Linked DNA regions of Homo sapiens: all the other regions are linked to region 1. Evidence: promoter capture Hi-C in human tissues and cell types (Jung and others, 2019). All regions are on one chromosome and are shown on one strand. The core of a region is centred on a gene start or on the middle of the fragment in contact, and the rest is flanking DNA. Distances in the headings are between cores, read along the strand shown.

What was found. Contacts are between HindIII fragments. The study calls those that stand out against the background at their distance.
Region 2: a contact is called between the fragment with the promoter of RPL22L1 here and the fragment with the promoter of PHC3 in region 1, in 1 of the 25 tissues and cell types used here (mesendoderm cells).
Region 3: a fragment that was not itself captured here is called in contact with the fragment with the promoter of PHC3 in region 1 in 1 of the 25 tissues and cell types used here (hippocampus).

Annotation. Positions count from the first base shown.
Region 1 is chr3:170,180,384-170,183,022 of GRCh38, reverse strand. PHC3 (polyhomeotic homolog 3) reads left to right here and starts at 1,290. Exons shown (of 15, transcript NM_024947.4): 1 at 1,290-1,321. The coding sequence starts at 1,308. RefSeq lists silencers at 1,136-1,275, 1,746-1,825. The HindIII fragment of the contact is 20,619 bases long and covers 1-2,639 here.
Region 2 is chr3:170,868,870-170,871,508 of GRCh38, reverse strand. It overlaps RPL22L1 (ribosomal protein L22 like 1), which reads left to right and starts at 1,314. Exons shown (of 4, transcript NM_001099645.2): 1 at 1,314-1,350. The coding sequence starts at 1,342. RefSeq lists enhancers at 150-875, 876-1,602, 1,772-1,821. The HindIII fragment of the contact is 18,698 bases long and covers 1-2,639 here.
Region 3 is chr3:170,757,713-170,760,351 of GRCh38, reverse strand. No RefSeq gene overlaps it. Among named protein-coding and RNA genes, the nearest start is that of RPL22L1, 110 kb to the left of the region's middle. The HindIII fragment of the contact is 4,311 bases long and covers 1-2,639 here.

The DNA.
Region 1 (2,639 bases), core at 41-2,540:
TGAAATTATTGTGACTCCATCACCTCACAAAATGCAAAAAGAGACATTGTTTATGGTTCGTATGCTTTTTTTTTCCTGTAAAGGGAGGTAAAGATTTATTATACACCTTGAACTTTAAACTTTCCAAAGCACTTAATAGATCTGTTTCAGAACACTTTTTCCTCAGCCTCCTGAGTAGCTGGGATGACAGGTGCGCGCCACGACATCCGGATAATTTTTGTATTTTTTGTAGAGATGGGATTTCCCCATGTTGCCCAGGGTGGTCTCAAACTCCCGGGCTCAAGCAATCCTCCCAACTTCACTTCCCAAAGTGCTGGTATTATGAGGGTGAGCCATCGTCCCGGTCTTCAGAACACATTATATTGTATGCAAATGTCTATAAAACCCGCTCCGCTACTTCTTGGAAGACAAGGACTCATCTTTATTATTTCATATTTATATTTAAATGTGTTATTTTACTTATCTTTATATGTTTGTCTCACACACCTGAGTTGTTGGCATTTAGCAGACTACACTAGCAAACTGGTGGCTGTTCCTGCTTGTTCCTTGTGGTGTTCAAGTTTGCAATTCCTACTAAGCGCTCAGCAAATTCATACTGAAGACATGAATGATATGCCTAGGGTAGTCAGGATGATTCCTTAACCACTCATTCACTGGCATCTGAACACTATCTTTCAGCTGGAGAGAGGTACTGCTGGTTGGGACCCTCAAGCCCCAAAGCTCCCAGGCAACAAGCCCTGCAGCCAGCCCTGAATTTCCTTTCTCCCTGAGACCTCAGCCTCTAATCCTCGTGGGTATTTTCTTTGAAACCACTCTGCAGTTTGCATAGGCTTTGGTATATTTTAGATATTCTTCAAAATTATTATTATTATTATTATTATTGTTGGGCTTTTTTTTGGTAGAGTCAGGGTCTCACTTTATTGTCAAGGCTGGTCCTGAACTCCTCGCTTCAAGAGATCCTCCTCAACCTCCCAGAGTGCTGGGATTACAGGTGAGCCACCGCGCCCATATTCTTTAAATTTTAAATTTAACAATCTAAGATAACTTTTTATATCTTTATTACAGATATCTCCCCAAGAGGAAGATCCTGGAGGAGAGAAAGAGAGGGGTTTGGAGAGGAGACACTGGTTATCTTAGTGGGGGAAATCTGGTCACTTTCCAGAAAGAGCAATTCCTATGGTGGGCGGGGGCGATTGGAAGCTGAGGACGCCACGTGACCTCTGGCTCCGGGGGCTGAGCCGACCCCGCCTCTCCGCCCGCCGCCGGGGGGCGCATGCGCAGCCCATGTTAGTGATGGAGGAGAGAAGATGGCGGAAGCGGAGTGAGTGACTAGATGGTGACTGATGTCGTAACTAGGGGGGGCGAGTTGGGGCAGCGACACGTTCCCCCAGGGGAAAGCTCAGGGCTCTTTTGCGGGCAGTGTGGGGAAAGAGAGACTCGAGACCCGTCCTATCGTGGAGGAGCCGGCTAGGCCCGTGTCGCGGGGCGAAGACGAACTCTAGGGTCCAGTTACCCTCCAGGCAGGAGCGCCCCTTCCGCCATCAGGTCCCGGATCTGCGCGGCCCTGCGCGCAGGGTCACCCTTGGGACTCCGGGAGCTGGGGTTTTCCGGGGAACGAGCCCGGGTGGGCTCCTCAGGCGCTGTCATTCCTGCAAGTGGGCCCCGCGGGCAGCCTTGTTACGGCTGCCTGCGCAGGGGCCCGCGGAGGCTGGGTAGGGCAGGGCGGGCACTGCCAGGCCTCCTTCGCCTTCTTCTCCTTCCCGCCCCGGCGCCACCCCACTCCTCCTCAGCGGGAGAATCCGACACGCGGGGCTGCCCGCTTCCCTCGTGCCGGAGGCATCCCGGCGTGGGCCTGAGAGCGGCGGGGGCTGCTTGCAGGTCTGGTGAGGCTGAAAACACCCTGAAAGAAAGGTCTTTCCCTCGATTCTCTGGGTGCAGCGTTGCTGCCTCACACGCGGGCCACATTCTTGTGTGTCGGTGTGACGGTATGTTTAGTTAACGACTCCAGAACTTACTGTTTCCTGGGTAGGCCTCTTGTGCACCAGAACTGCTGGCTGTATTTTGCAGGTATTAGTATGCCTAGACGGTGGAGTTACCAAAGTTGTTCTTTTGTGCCAGGCCTCGAAATGCAGTGCGATGGTTTGGCCAGTTCCGCTCAACCGATGTTTAGACTTATGCCGAGAATTTGGATTCTCTGTGACCATTTTTGGTTAGGAGTTAGAACTGTTTACCATACTGTTTGGATTGGAGGGCATAGTTGAGCAGATTAACACTTTTAAAAAACCAGAACTTAAGCTGGCCTTTTGCATGTCACTGGTACACGATACGGTAGTAGTATGACAGGCAGCAGTTCGGTAAAAAGTTTACCTTACCTACCACTAATACTGTATAATGTTGAACAGTTACCATATGATGCTGTGATTTGATTGGAAGGCAGTTTGGAAAAAAAAAAAAAAAACAGAAGCATAAAAATGTATGAATTATTTACTAATCCAAAAAGTAAGTGAGGAGTCAGCTTTCTTCCTGACGGTTTTCCTTTCACTTTTCCTCTTATTTTCTTTTTCTTTCTTTGTGACAGCGTCTCTCACTCTTATCTCCCAGGCTGGAGTGCAGTGGCACGATCATAGCTCACTGCAGCC
Region 2 (2,639 bases), core at 65-2,564, 690 kb before region 1:
AGCTCTTAAGGCAGACAACTAAAAAATCTTGTTGAAATGGATTTCTTCTAGGAATTCAGGGCCTCTCTTCAGACTCTACAAGTCATATGCTCTATTAAAGCATAGTTTCCACGATAACTACTTGCTGGCATAAAGGCCACGAACAGTTCTTACTTTCTGGGGTCATTCTTCAAATTAACAACAAAGTCCACCCCATCCCTTACCCCTACCCCTAGGTATGATAATTTCATCTCCACGAAAACATATTACTGCTAAACCCAAGCGGTTCAGCATGCCACTTTTCGGATCTGATGTCAATTTACAATCCTTCAAAGCTCAAAAGCTACTTTTTCCTTTTGTCAGCAAGACACTTCCACCCTCGTGTGTCTTGTACATACTGATAGGTCACAGCAAACATTCATTGAATTTTAACTGGGAGCATTTTGGATGGAAATCAAGAGACCTGGGATTAACTGTAAAACCCATGATAAATTATACCAAACGAATGAACAAGAAGCAAGCACTACGTGTTTTTCCCTTTGAGACAGTCTCACTGTTACCCAGGCTGGAGTGCAGTGGCTCGATCTCGACTCACTGCAACTTCCGCCTCTCAAGGTAAAGCGATGCTCCTGCCTCAGCCTCCCGAGTGGCTGGGAGTACAGACGCGCACCACCACGCGGGCCATTTTTTTTAAAATTGTTTGTAGAGACGGGTTCTCCCTATGCCTACGCTGCCAAGGGTGGTCTCGAACTCCTGGGCTCAAGAGATTCTCCGGCCTCGGCCTCCCAAAGTGCTGGGATTACAGGCGTGGGCGTGTAAGCATATATATACATGATTTTTTTTTCCCGAGGACCTGGTCCCCGAAGCACCAATTTCCCTCAACAGTCATTTAGAAAACGAGGCTCACAGACAAAACACAAACAAATAACTTTTTCGCTGGAGGATTATAACTGCAATAAAAGGAGATCCCAAAGCAACCTGAGACACTGCCTTGCCCTGATTGGAAAGGGGATTCCGGTGATTAGTGAAAGATGACTCCTGCATCCCTCGCGTGCGTCCGTATCCGGGAGCAGCCACTAGGTAACTGTAGAGGCCACTGCAATTAATCGGCTTGAACAGCCAGGAGCGGAAACCCGAGAGTCAGTTCAACCACAGCCACCCGCGTGTGCCCGCGGAAAGCCGATGGCCTACTCTCGTCCGGCAGCGCACTGGTTTCCTGGGTTACCGGCCTCAGCGCTCCTCCCGCTTTCTTTTCCGGGAGGCGACAATCTGACGCTCTCAGCGCGTGACGCAGCACGCTTTGATATAAATGCAGACCGCGCGGCCGTAGCTTCCTCTCTGCTCTCGCGGCCGACTCGCAAGATGGCGCCGGTGAGTGAGCGATGTCTTGGTGGGAGTGTTGTGTGGCAATTTAATGATTTCCGCTGTAACGATTTTTGCATCTGTCGAGTGGAGACGTCTCAGTCAAGATAAAGGGAGGGGAGTAGTGAAGTCTGGGTCAGAAACACAACCAAGACGCGAGGATCCTGAACTGTTTTTCGAGACTCCCTGGCAGCTGCCATGAGGTCTAGTGGAGTTGGAGCTGGGCCCGGAATTGGTTTAGGATGGGTGGTTTTGGACACGCGGGAAAGAGGGAGGCACAACTGTAAATGGGCCGGTGGTACTGCAATCTGAGCCATTTCTTTACTATCTCGCGCCTGATAATGCTTTTGCCACTCAGCACTGGGTAGGGGAATGGTGGGTAATCGGGCCGGTCTGACGACCTTTGCCAGGCCAGAGGGAGCTCCTAGGCGCTCAGCTCCCGCGATGGCCGACATCACAAGTTTTTGAGAACTTTCAGTTGGGGAAGAAGTTTCTCGGTGAAGTAATTTTTAGAAAAGTATAAGTCTAGATTCCAGCAATGTGAAATAAACGTGCTTCAGATGTTTTACTTAAGTCATTAGTAAGGGAACCAGTAAGATGTTAAAATGTTCCTAAGAATATCTGAAAAGCTAGATATACATGCGCAATTTACAAATAAAGTTAGGATAAAATTGCTGGGCTAGCTACAAAACTGGGTAATGCCCAGCATGGCCATAAACCCTATAGGGTTATCTGTTCCATTAGACAGAAGTTGTTTGTGTCTCCCAAATTAACTTCTGCGCCAACTGGGTAATTATCTTTTGGCACATGTTACCATGCTACCTGAGAAAGCAAACTAATGTGTAATACTTGGTAGCCACTTGGGTGAATCTAAATTGGAGGTTATAGTCTGATAAATACAGATTTGTTTGTTCATATTGCAGTGAATGTACATGGTTGCTGGCCACAGTAACATTTTGCTTATGTAGCCATATTATATGGTCTTGGTATAAAAGGTTTGGATATGGAAAATTTAAGTTCCACGGTGTTGGTTTTTAGGTTTTTTTTTTTTTTTGAGACAGAGTCTGTTGCCCAGGTGGGAGTATAGTGGCATGATCAGGCTCACTACAACCTCCGCCTCCCGGGTTCAAGCAATCCTCCCGACTCAGCCTCCTGAATAGCTAGGATTATAAGCATGCACCACCACACCTGGCTAATTTTTGTATTTTTACTAGAGATGGGGTTTCACCATGTTGGCCAGGCTGGCCTTGAACTCCTGACCTCACGTGATCCTCCTGCCTCAGCCTCCCAAAGTGCTG
Region 3 (2,639 bases), core at 37-2,536, 580 kb before region 1:
TTGTTTCTTGACCACATCACTTGATTTTTAGGGAGATCCTATGATTGGTATTCTGAGCATTTTCTGAGTTGCCTCATCGCTGGGTCAATGGCTTTATCTACTAAAAGAAACAGAAAGGGAAATTGGTTCTGTCTCACTGAGCTTGCCAGAGTGGAATCTGGCCAAACTGCTAAACACCACTGAGCTTCATTCCTCACCTGTAAAATAGAGATAAATAATAAAACATACACTGTGTGAAGATTAAATAAGACAATGTATGTAAAGTAAATAGCGTGGTGACTGAGAGGTCAGCACAGTGCCGTGAATAAGAGCATGAACTGGAGCAAGACTGTCTTCCCCAAATTCTCCCTCAGTCTTTTGCTGTCTATGTAGTTTAGGGGCAAGCCAAACCACTTGTGCCTCATTTGCCAATCTGTAGAAAGGGCGATAATAAAATTTACCTTATAGGGTTGTTGTGAAGATGAAATGAATTAGTGAAAACTGCTGAGAACCATGCCTGGCACACAACCACAACAAACACTAAAAGTGCTTGCCAAAAAAAGTGTTTGCCATTATTATCAGAAAATACTGGTATTATTACAGCTATTAAAATAAGCTCTGGCCTTGAAAACATTGTCCTGAAAAGCTGATACAATCAAAATGAAGCAATAAAGGTTTAACCTTTGGTCATGCATAGACTAAGATGTTTTACTTACTTTTTCTTTTATTTGCCAAAAGGAAATAGAAAATTCAGAGGCGATGTTGACTTGGGGAGACCTTCTGAGGAAGGAAGAAATCCCAGGTGACCTGGTTCTCTTCACATTCCTCAGGAAGCCCGCTGGTTTCAGGAAGACCTGCACAAAGGGGAAACCTGACCTCATAATTGAACAAAGCTGATTTTTAAACATGGGAAGACAGGGCTAATGGGGTGGTTGTGAGGAGTATTAGTCCCCTTCAGGGAGAGAATTTAATATGACTGAGGTCACAGGAGACAATCTCCAATATACTCATTAGCAAATTAGTATTTTGTTTATCTTTAAAAAAAAGGGTGAGCCGGGCACGGTGGTTCACACCTGTAATCCCAGCGCTTTGGGAGGCCGAGGCGGACGGGTCACGAGGTCAAGAGATTGAGACTATTGTGGCCAACATGGTGAAACCCCGTCTGTACTAAAAATAAAAAAATTAGCCGGGCGTGGTGGCGCACACCTTTAGTCCCAGCTACTCAGGAGGCTGAGGCAGGAGAATCGCTTGAACCCGGGAGGCGGAGCTTGCAGTGAGCTGAGATCGCGCCGCTGCACTCCAGCCTGGGCAACAGAGCGGACTCCATCTCAAAAAAAAAAAAAAAAAAAAAGGTGGGGGTGGAGTCAGTTCAAAAGCATGGTGGGGAATTCTATGTTGAGGCAGTGCAGTATTTGGAGAAACTGCTGAGAAGATGTGAAAGACCACACATAACTATTTTATGCCCCTGTGAGATCCTTGCCAGAGCTTGATGGTGCCCATTAGTTCATTATTCCTTATGTTTTAAACTTTTGGTAGAACCTATAAGGATTATTATATGCCAGATGTATCAACTATGTTATAAACATGAACAATGAAAAGCTATTTTTTAAACCTATATGAATCTTGTGTAGCTTTTAAGAACATGTGTCCAAAAAATAAAGAATAAAAATAAAAACATGTCCAAAAGAACCATCATATAGAGTGGTCTGGTATAGACAGTGAATTAAGAGTCATCTGGGTTAAGTGCCTTTGGGAAAATCACTTCTCTGAATTTTAGTTTCTACTTCCCCTGCTTATTCCAGAGGGTTATTGTGGACACCAAATAAGGTGATGAATGTGAGAAAACACTTTTTAAATGCAAAACTCATGTTAGGAAAACATGTTATAAATGTAAATTTATAAAGGTGAGACTGGGAGAAGCAGGATAAAGAGAGGGAGAAAATCAGAAAGACGTCAGTGAGCAAAAAAGGAGGAGGAAACGTGAGGAAAAAAATCAATTTTCAAGATATTCAGGCATAAAAGAAGGCAGTTTGGAAGTGAAAATATACATGGTAAATGAACGACAATAGACAGAAGCTAAACATAAGTCACATATCTGTAAGACGGAATATTATGTGGATATGAAAAGTTATGCTTATGAAGTATTTGAATGGCATCAAAAACACTCAGCATGTTAACTAACAACAGATACAACATTGTATGTGTGAAGAAAATGCAGCCAATTGCATAAGAAAAGTATTAAAAGAGATTAGAAGGAAACATGGTAAAGCGGTTGCCTCTGAGTCGTAAGCAATTAAAGGAGGTTTCTATTCTTTCTGAAAAATTACCGTTTTCTTTAGTGAACATGAATCACTTTTCTATTTAAAAACTAAGCTGAACTAAATTAACAATAAAAGATAGGAGAAAAGCTAGATCAAGGAGATATATGAAGCAGAGTATCAGGAAACCTCCTGAAGCTTCTTTAGGCCTAAATATGGGATTTGTACCTGAAAGACCAAATATAAGTGCTTTGTTACCTCCACTTACGAGCGGTTCATTGTATACACATTGTATACACATGTACATTGTATACACAGTTCAATTATACACTGCTCATGTAGTACAAGGAACTATTTATTTTATTTTATTATTTTTCACACATTTTATTTTTTTCATGTATT